Linked DNA regions of Homo sapiens: region 1 is linked to region 2. The links are contacts of gene promoters, found by promoter capture Hi-C in human tissues and cell types (Jung and others, 2019). All regions are on one chromosome and are shown on one strand. The core of a region is centred on a gene start or on the middle of the fragment in contact, and the rest is flanking DNA. Distances in the headings are between cores, read along the strand shown.

Region 1 (3,369 bases), core at 587-3,086, 850 kb before region 2:
CTCAAGCCTGTCATCCCAGCACTTTGGGGAGATGAGGTGAGAGGATCGCTTGAGCTCAGGAGTTCAAGACCAGCCTCGGCAACATAGGGAGACCCCCATTTCTACCAAAAATTAAAAAATCAGCAGGGCGTGGTGGTGTGCACCTGCAGTCCCAGCTACTTGGGAGGCCAAGGTGAGAGGATCACTTGAGCCCAGGAGGTTGAGGTTGCAGTGAACTATGATCTTGCCACTCCGCTCCAGCCTGGGAGACAGAGCAAGACCCTGTTTTGTTTTGTTTTGTTTTGTTTTGTTTTGTTTTGTTTTCAGATGGAATTTCCCTCTGTTGCCCAGGCTGGAGTGCAGTGGCGTGATCTTGGCTCACTGCAACCTCTGCTTCCCAGGTTCAAGCAATTCTTCTGCCTCAGCCTCCTGAGTAGCTGGGATTACATGCATGAACCACCACGCCAAGCTAATTTTTATATTTTTAGTAGACATGGGGTTTCACTGTGTTGGCCAGGCTGGTCTCCAACTCCTGACCTCAAGTGCTCTGCCTGCTTGGCCTCCCAAAGTGCTGGGATTACAGGCGTGAGTCACTGCGCCAGGCCTAAATGAGACCCTGTCTCCTAAAAGAAAAAAAAAATTCAATTTGTAGAAATGTAAAGTAATAAATTAAGTCATCATATGAATAGATTTTCCGAAAATTGATGTGAGAAATCCATTGTTTTCCCACTATTCATTTAATTCAAAACTCATTCAATTTGAAAAATTTAAAAGTTTGACAATACCATGTGTGAGAGTTGGAGACCAGACCAATTGTTTCCCAAAGTGATTATTCCAATATACATTCCATCACTGGTGGGGGATGTATCCCAGTGATGGGATATATATTGGAACGATCACTTTGGGAAACAATTTGGCATTTTCTAGCAAATTTGAACACTCCTATACTCTATGTAATTTCATTCTTGCTTATATACCCATGGTAAAATTTAATTCTAGCAACTTTGAGCATTCCTTTACCCTATGAATCAGTAATTCTATTCTTGATTCTATACCCGAGGTAAAATTTAACTATACTTGCACAAGAATTCATGGAAGCTGTCTTTTTAAGACAAAAATCTGGAAAGCTTGGCATGGTGACACATACCTATAGTCCCAGCTACTCAGGAGGCTGATGCAGGAGGATTGCGTGAGCCCGGGAGGCCACCACTGCACTCCAGCCTGGGTGCCCAGAGGGAGACCCTGTCTCAAAAAAAAAAAAAAAGGCTGGGCATGGTAGCTCGTGCCTGTAACTGTAATCCCAGCACTTTGGGATGCCAAGGCAGGAGGAGGATTACTTGAGCTCAGGAGTTCTACATTAGTTTGGGCAACATGGTGAAATCCTATCTCTACAAAAAATGCAAAAATTAGCCAGGCGTGGTGGTGCTCACCTGTAGTCCCAGTTATTTGTGAGGCTGCAGTGGGATGATTGCTGGAGCCCAGAAGGCTGAAGGTGCAGTGAACTATGATAATCCCACTGCACTCTAGTCTGGGTGCCAGAGTGATACCTAGTCTCAAAAAAAAAAAAAAAAAAAAAAGCTGGAAACAACCCAAACACCCATCAACAAGAAAAGATTGTTGTTGTGGTCTATCCAGATAATGGGATATCATACAGCAGTGAAATAAATGAAATATAGCTACATGTAATAATATGGTGGTGAAATCTTTTTAGCTCATCTGGGTCCACAAAGCAAGTATCCAAAGATGACATAACTTTTTAATGAATTTCAAAGACGCATAAAACTGAGCAATACATTATTTAGCTAGGCATACCTCTTTTTAATTTAATTTTTTTTTTTTTTAGAGACAGAGTCTCGCTCTGTTGCCCTGGGTTCAAACAATCTTCCTGACTCAGCCTCCTGAGTAGCTAGGACCCACTCAGTTAACTAATTTTTTTTTTTTTTTTTTTTTTTTTTAGAGACAGGGTCCCACTACGTTGCCCAGAATGGTCTTGAACTCCTGGCCTCAGGGGATCCTCCTGTCTTGGCTTCTGGAAGTGCTGGGATTACAAGCAAGAGCCATGGCACTTAGACCTTAATACTTCTTTTAAAAGGGTGACTAAACAACACAAAATTCAGGGGCTGGGCATGGTGGCTCACACCTGTAATCCCAGCACTTTGGGAGGCTGAGGCAGGCGAATCTCTAGAGGTCAGGAGTTCGAGACCAGCCTGGCCAAAATAGTGAAACCCTGTCTCTACTGAAAATACAAAAATCAGTGGGGTGTGGTGGTGCTTGCCTGTAATCCTAGCTACTCCGGAGGATGAGGCAGGAGAATCACTTGAACCCGGAAGGCAGAGGCTGCAGTGAGCTGAGATCGCACCACTGCACTCCAGCCTGGGTGGCAGAGTGAGACTCTGTATCAAAAAAAAAAAAAAAAAAAAAAAGGCCGGGCGCGGTGGCTCATGCCTGTAATCCCAGCAGTTTGGGAAGCCGAAGCGGGCAGATCACCTGAGGTCGGGAGTTCAAGACCAGCCTGACCAACATGGAGAAACCCCGTCTCTACTAAAAATACAAAATTAGCTGGGCATGGTGGCACATGCCTGCAATCCCAGCTACTTGGGAGGCTGAGGCAGGAGAATCATTTAACCCCCCAGGAGGCAGAGGTTGTGGTGAGCTGAGATCGTGCCACTGCACTCCAGCCCGGGCAACAAGAGCGAAACTATGTCTCAAAAACAAACAAACAAACAAACCCCCACCAAACAAACAAAATTCAGGATGGTGATTACCTCTGAGATGGAAAGATGAGATAGGAGGAAACCATCCGATCCCTCCATGTCCCCTCCCAGAGATGTGAGTTGTTGGTAATGATGTTGTTCTTGGGTGAGTGAGTGAGTTCACAAGTGTTCATTATTTTACTATAAATAAATAAAGAAAAAATAATTAAACTAACAGAGAGTCATGCCTAGGGCAATGATGATGAGGTGTTACGACATTAGGATTATGATTAATTCATTTATGTTTTCCTGAGTTTCCTTCTCTCCCCCCCTCCACGAACCGACTGCCAGCAAAGCATCTTATAAACATTCAGACAGAAAAATGTAGTTCCTTTCAAAGAAACAATAATTAGGCTAGCTCCCTAAATCTAGTTAAGATTAGATTACTCTGATTAGATTAATCCAGATTAAATTTGGCTGATCTAGTTATTTACGGTTATGGCATTAGCTGGTGGTGTTTGTGTGTGTGTGTGTGTGTGTGTGTGTGTGTGTTTGTTTTTTGAGACAGGGTCTTGCTGTGTTGCCCAGGATGGAGTGCAGTGGCACAACCACAGCTTTCTGCAGCCTCAACCTCCTCGGCTCAAGCGATCCTTCTGCCTCAGCCTCCTGTGTAGCTGGGACCACAGGCACGTGCCAC
Region 2 (3,124 bases), core at 450-2,949:
TAGAGACTGTGGCAAAGAAGTCTGAAGGGGACAGCTGTTTTCCAGCCCAGCAAAGGGCTGCCCTAAGAAAATGCTGTCCTCGTATTACTGAAGCTTTCACCTGTTTAAAAGGAGTTCTGAATCAAACTTTTTGTTCAATCAAACCTTCCAATTTAAAAAATAAAAACAAATTCAAATTCTTTGTAAAAAAAAAATATTGCATTGGGGCACAAAAAAATAATGCATCTGTAGGCAAGATACTGACTTGTGGGTTGTCTCCTTCCTTTCTCCCAGCCTCCTCCAAATTCCAGCCTCTTGTAGTGATGTCAAGCACCCCTGCAGGCTCAGCAACTCACCTATTTTCACCTCCAGATCTTCATTCAGGAAAAGGTTGCCCAGCTTGAGGTCTCGATGAATAACTCGGTTTCGGTGCAGGTACTGGCAGCCAAGCACAATTTGCCGTAGGTAGTATCGGGCCTCAGGCTCAGTCAGGGCTTTCCTCCTCTTGTGCAGCTCCAGGAGAGACTGTGGGTGGGAAGGAGAGGGCAGGAGGGATGGGGAGGTGGATTGAGGCCGGTGGGGAAGGGAGAGGGTTACCAGGCAAAGGAAGCACAGGACTGGACTCTGGACTCCCAAGGGATGAAAGAGGGGTCTTGGTGGGTTTCTCTCCTTCCCTATGCCCCCACCCCATTCCTTCTCCAGCACAGCGGCATCTGGACCCTGCCTTAACACTGTCCACAACCATTCGCAGCACCCCTTCTCCTACTAGCTTCCCCCCTTACCTGGGGGTCCTCTCTCAGCCCCACTCCGGAAGCTCCGAGTCCCCAGCACCAGATCCCTTTCCTGACTCGTATCTCCCCCGGAAGGCCCGAAGTCTGGCTCCAACTACCCCCCCACTGACCCAGCTCCACCCCAGAAGCTCCCAGGGCGCGGCATCACTAACCTGGGACTCCTCCCTGGGTACTCCAGGGCCCTAGCGTCCATTACCAGCACCCCTCCCCCCAGCACCTCGCGTCCAGAAGCTGACTTCCCTATCAGCAACATGACTCAGACTCCACTTCACTGGAACCCCCTCCTCTAGCAGCTCCCAGAGCCAAGAAGCCCTTACCAAAGACACTTTCCATACGTAAGCGGGAGGCTCCCAGCACCCTTCTCTAGCAGCTCCAAGTCCCAGGCTCTCCCTTGCTGGGTACTCTTTCCAGCAGCTCCAGGTCTGGGCGCTCCAACTGCCCCGCAGGCAGTTCCAGTTCCCCAGCAGCGACACTCACCCTCCGGCGGCAGAGCTCCAACACCACGAACACGAAGTCGTTGTCCTCGAAAAAGCCGTGGAATCCTACGACGTGCTGGTGGGCGAGGCTGCGGTGAATGGATATTTCCATGGACATCTTCTCCCTCTGGTGCGGCTTGAGCAGCAGAGACTTAGGCACAATCTTGCCCGCGAACACCTCCTTGGTGTCCGCGTCCGAGATCTCGAAGCACTTGGCAAAGCCGCCCTTGCCCAAAAAGCGGCCCCGCACATAGCGCCGCCGGCTGCGTGGGTCCACTAGGACCTCCGGGATCTCTTTCGCCGGTGGAGCCGCCGCCGGAGCTCCGGGAGCTGCAACTCCGGGGACCCCGGCTTTCCCAGGGTCGGCCGGTGCCCGTGCCAGCTTCCCTGCAGTCACTGCAGCACTCATGCTCCCGAAGCTGCGCTGCAGACCTCGATCCGAGCAGAGCCTCCGCACCGCTCCGCTCCTCCCCGAATTCAAACGCGGCGCTGGGAACGTTACAAAAGCCTGCGCGCCACTGATTGGCCGCGGGGATTTAAAATCCAAACCCGCCCGCCGCGCGGCACCATGGGAGCGCCCTGCGCAGCAGCAGCCTTTAAACCCGGACCCAGCCGGGGAAAACCTGATTGACACGGACGCCCGAACACGTGGGATAGCCTGGGAAACCAAACCCGGCGTGGATGCGGAGACCCAGCCCCGAGAGAGGAGGAATTCCTTCGGGGTTTCTCCCTTTCTCGGGCGTCCGGGAAAGCTCCTGCGGTTCACTTGCGCCTCCTCCAGGAAGCTTTTACTTAAATCTTCCTCTACCTCGGGGCCAGGGAACAGTAGCATCGCCATCACCTGAGAGCTTGTTAGAACCGCAAAGGCAAACGTTCAGGCCCTACCCCAGACCTCCCGAGTCAGTGTCCGCCTCTCAACAAGACTGCTCAGGTGATTCCTACACATCCTGAAGTTGGAGAAGCACAGTACCAGAGCCCCCCATGATGCAACGAAGCTGTCTGGCCTCCTCGCTACTGAATTTCCCAGGGCCTAAAATAGTGGACACTCAGTTTCTTGGTCAGAGGGAGGGAAGGTTGGAAGAATGCCTAGCAAACTGGCAGGTCATAGCCAAATGTGTCTTGCGGGGTTTTGTTTGGCCTCCCCCCACGCCTTTTTTTTGTGTGTGTGACGGAATCTTGCTCTGTCGCCCAGGCTGGAGTGCAGTGGCACGATCTCAGCTCACTGCAACCTCTGCTTCCCGGGTTCAAGCAATCCTCCCGCCTCGGCCTCCCTAGCAGCTGGAATTACAAGCATGCACCACCATGCCCGGCTAATTTTTGTAATTTTAGTAGAGAAGAGGTTTCACCATGTTGGCCAGGCTGGTCTTGAACTCCTGACCTCAAGTGATCTGCCCCTCGGCCTCCCAAATGCTGGGATTACAGGCGTGAGCCACCGCGCCCCGCCATTGTAAAACATTTACAGCATTTAAAAGAGGAGCTCATAAAAGTTGGGATTTGTGGCCTTTCCTGAAAAAAATCAGCTCTAGCTACTTACTCTGTGCCTACATGCTTTCAGTTTGCCACAGTTTACAGCTACACCCGTTTGTTCTGTAGGTACTTGAGTGGCAACCCTGGAACAGTAAAATACCCACGTTAAAAGCTCTTTCTCTGTGCCTCCTTAGCACCCTCTGATCCTTCATAGAGCCCAGCAAAAATCAACCATACTATAAGCATCCTTCACCTGCCTTGCAGCTAAGCTGAAGGACAATGAGGACAATGATGCCGTCCTTTCTACCCCATGTCCCAAGCTCCCAGAGCAGTGCTTGGTAAAAAAAAAAGGGTACTTACTAAAATGTTGGCTGAATAAAAGGAAGACTTTGAAAAATTAAGTTATTTTGT

The links. Contacts are between HindIII fragments. The study calls those that stand out against the background at their distance.
Region 1: a fragment that was not itself captured here is called in contact with the fragment with the promoter of PLK1 in region 2 in 1 of the 25 tissues and cell types used here (dorsolateral prefrontal cortex).

What each region holds. Positions count from the first base shown.
Region 1 is chr16:24,526,857-24,530,225 of GRCh38, reverse strand. No RefSeq gene overlaps it. Among named protein-coding and RNA genes, the nearest start is that of RBBP6, 11 kb to the left of the region's middle. The HindIII fragment of the contact is 3,801 bases long and covers 1-3,369 here.
Region 2 is chr16:23,677,464-23,680,587 of GRCh38, reverse strand. It overlaps PLK1 (polo like kinase 1), which reads right to left and starts at 1,699. Exons shown (of 10, transcript NM_005030.6): 1 at 1,248-1,699; 2 at 336-504. The coding sequence starts at 1,655. DCTN5 (dynactin subunit 5) reads right to left here. Exons shown (of 6, transcript NM_032486.4): 6 at 3,116-3,124. The HindIII fragment of the contact is 4,791 bases long and covers 1,063-3,124 here.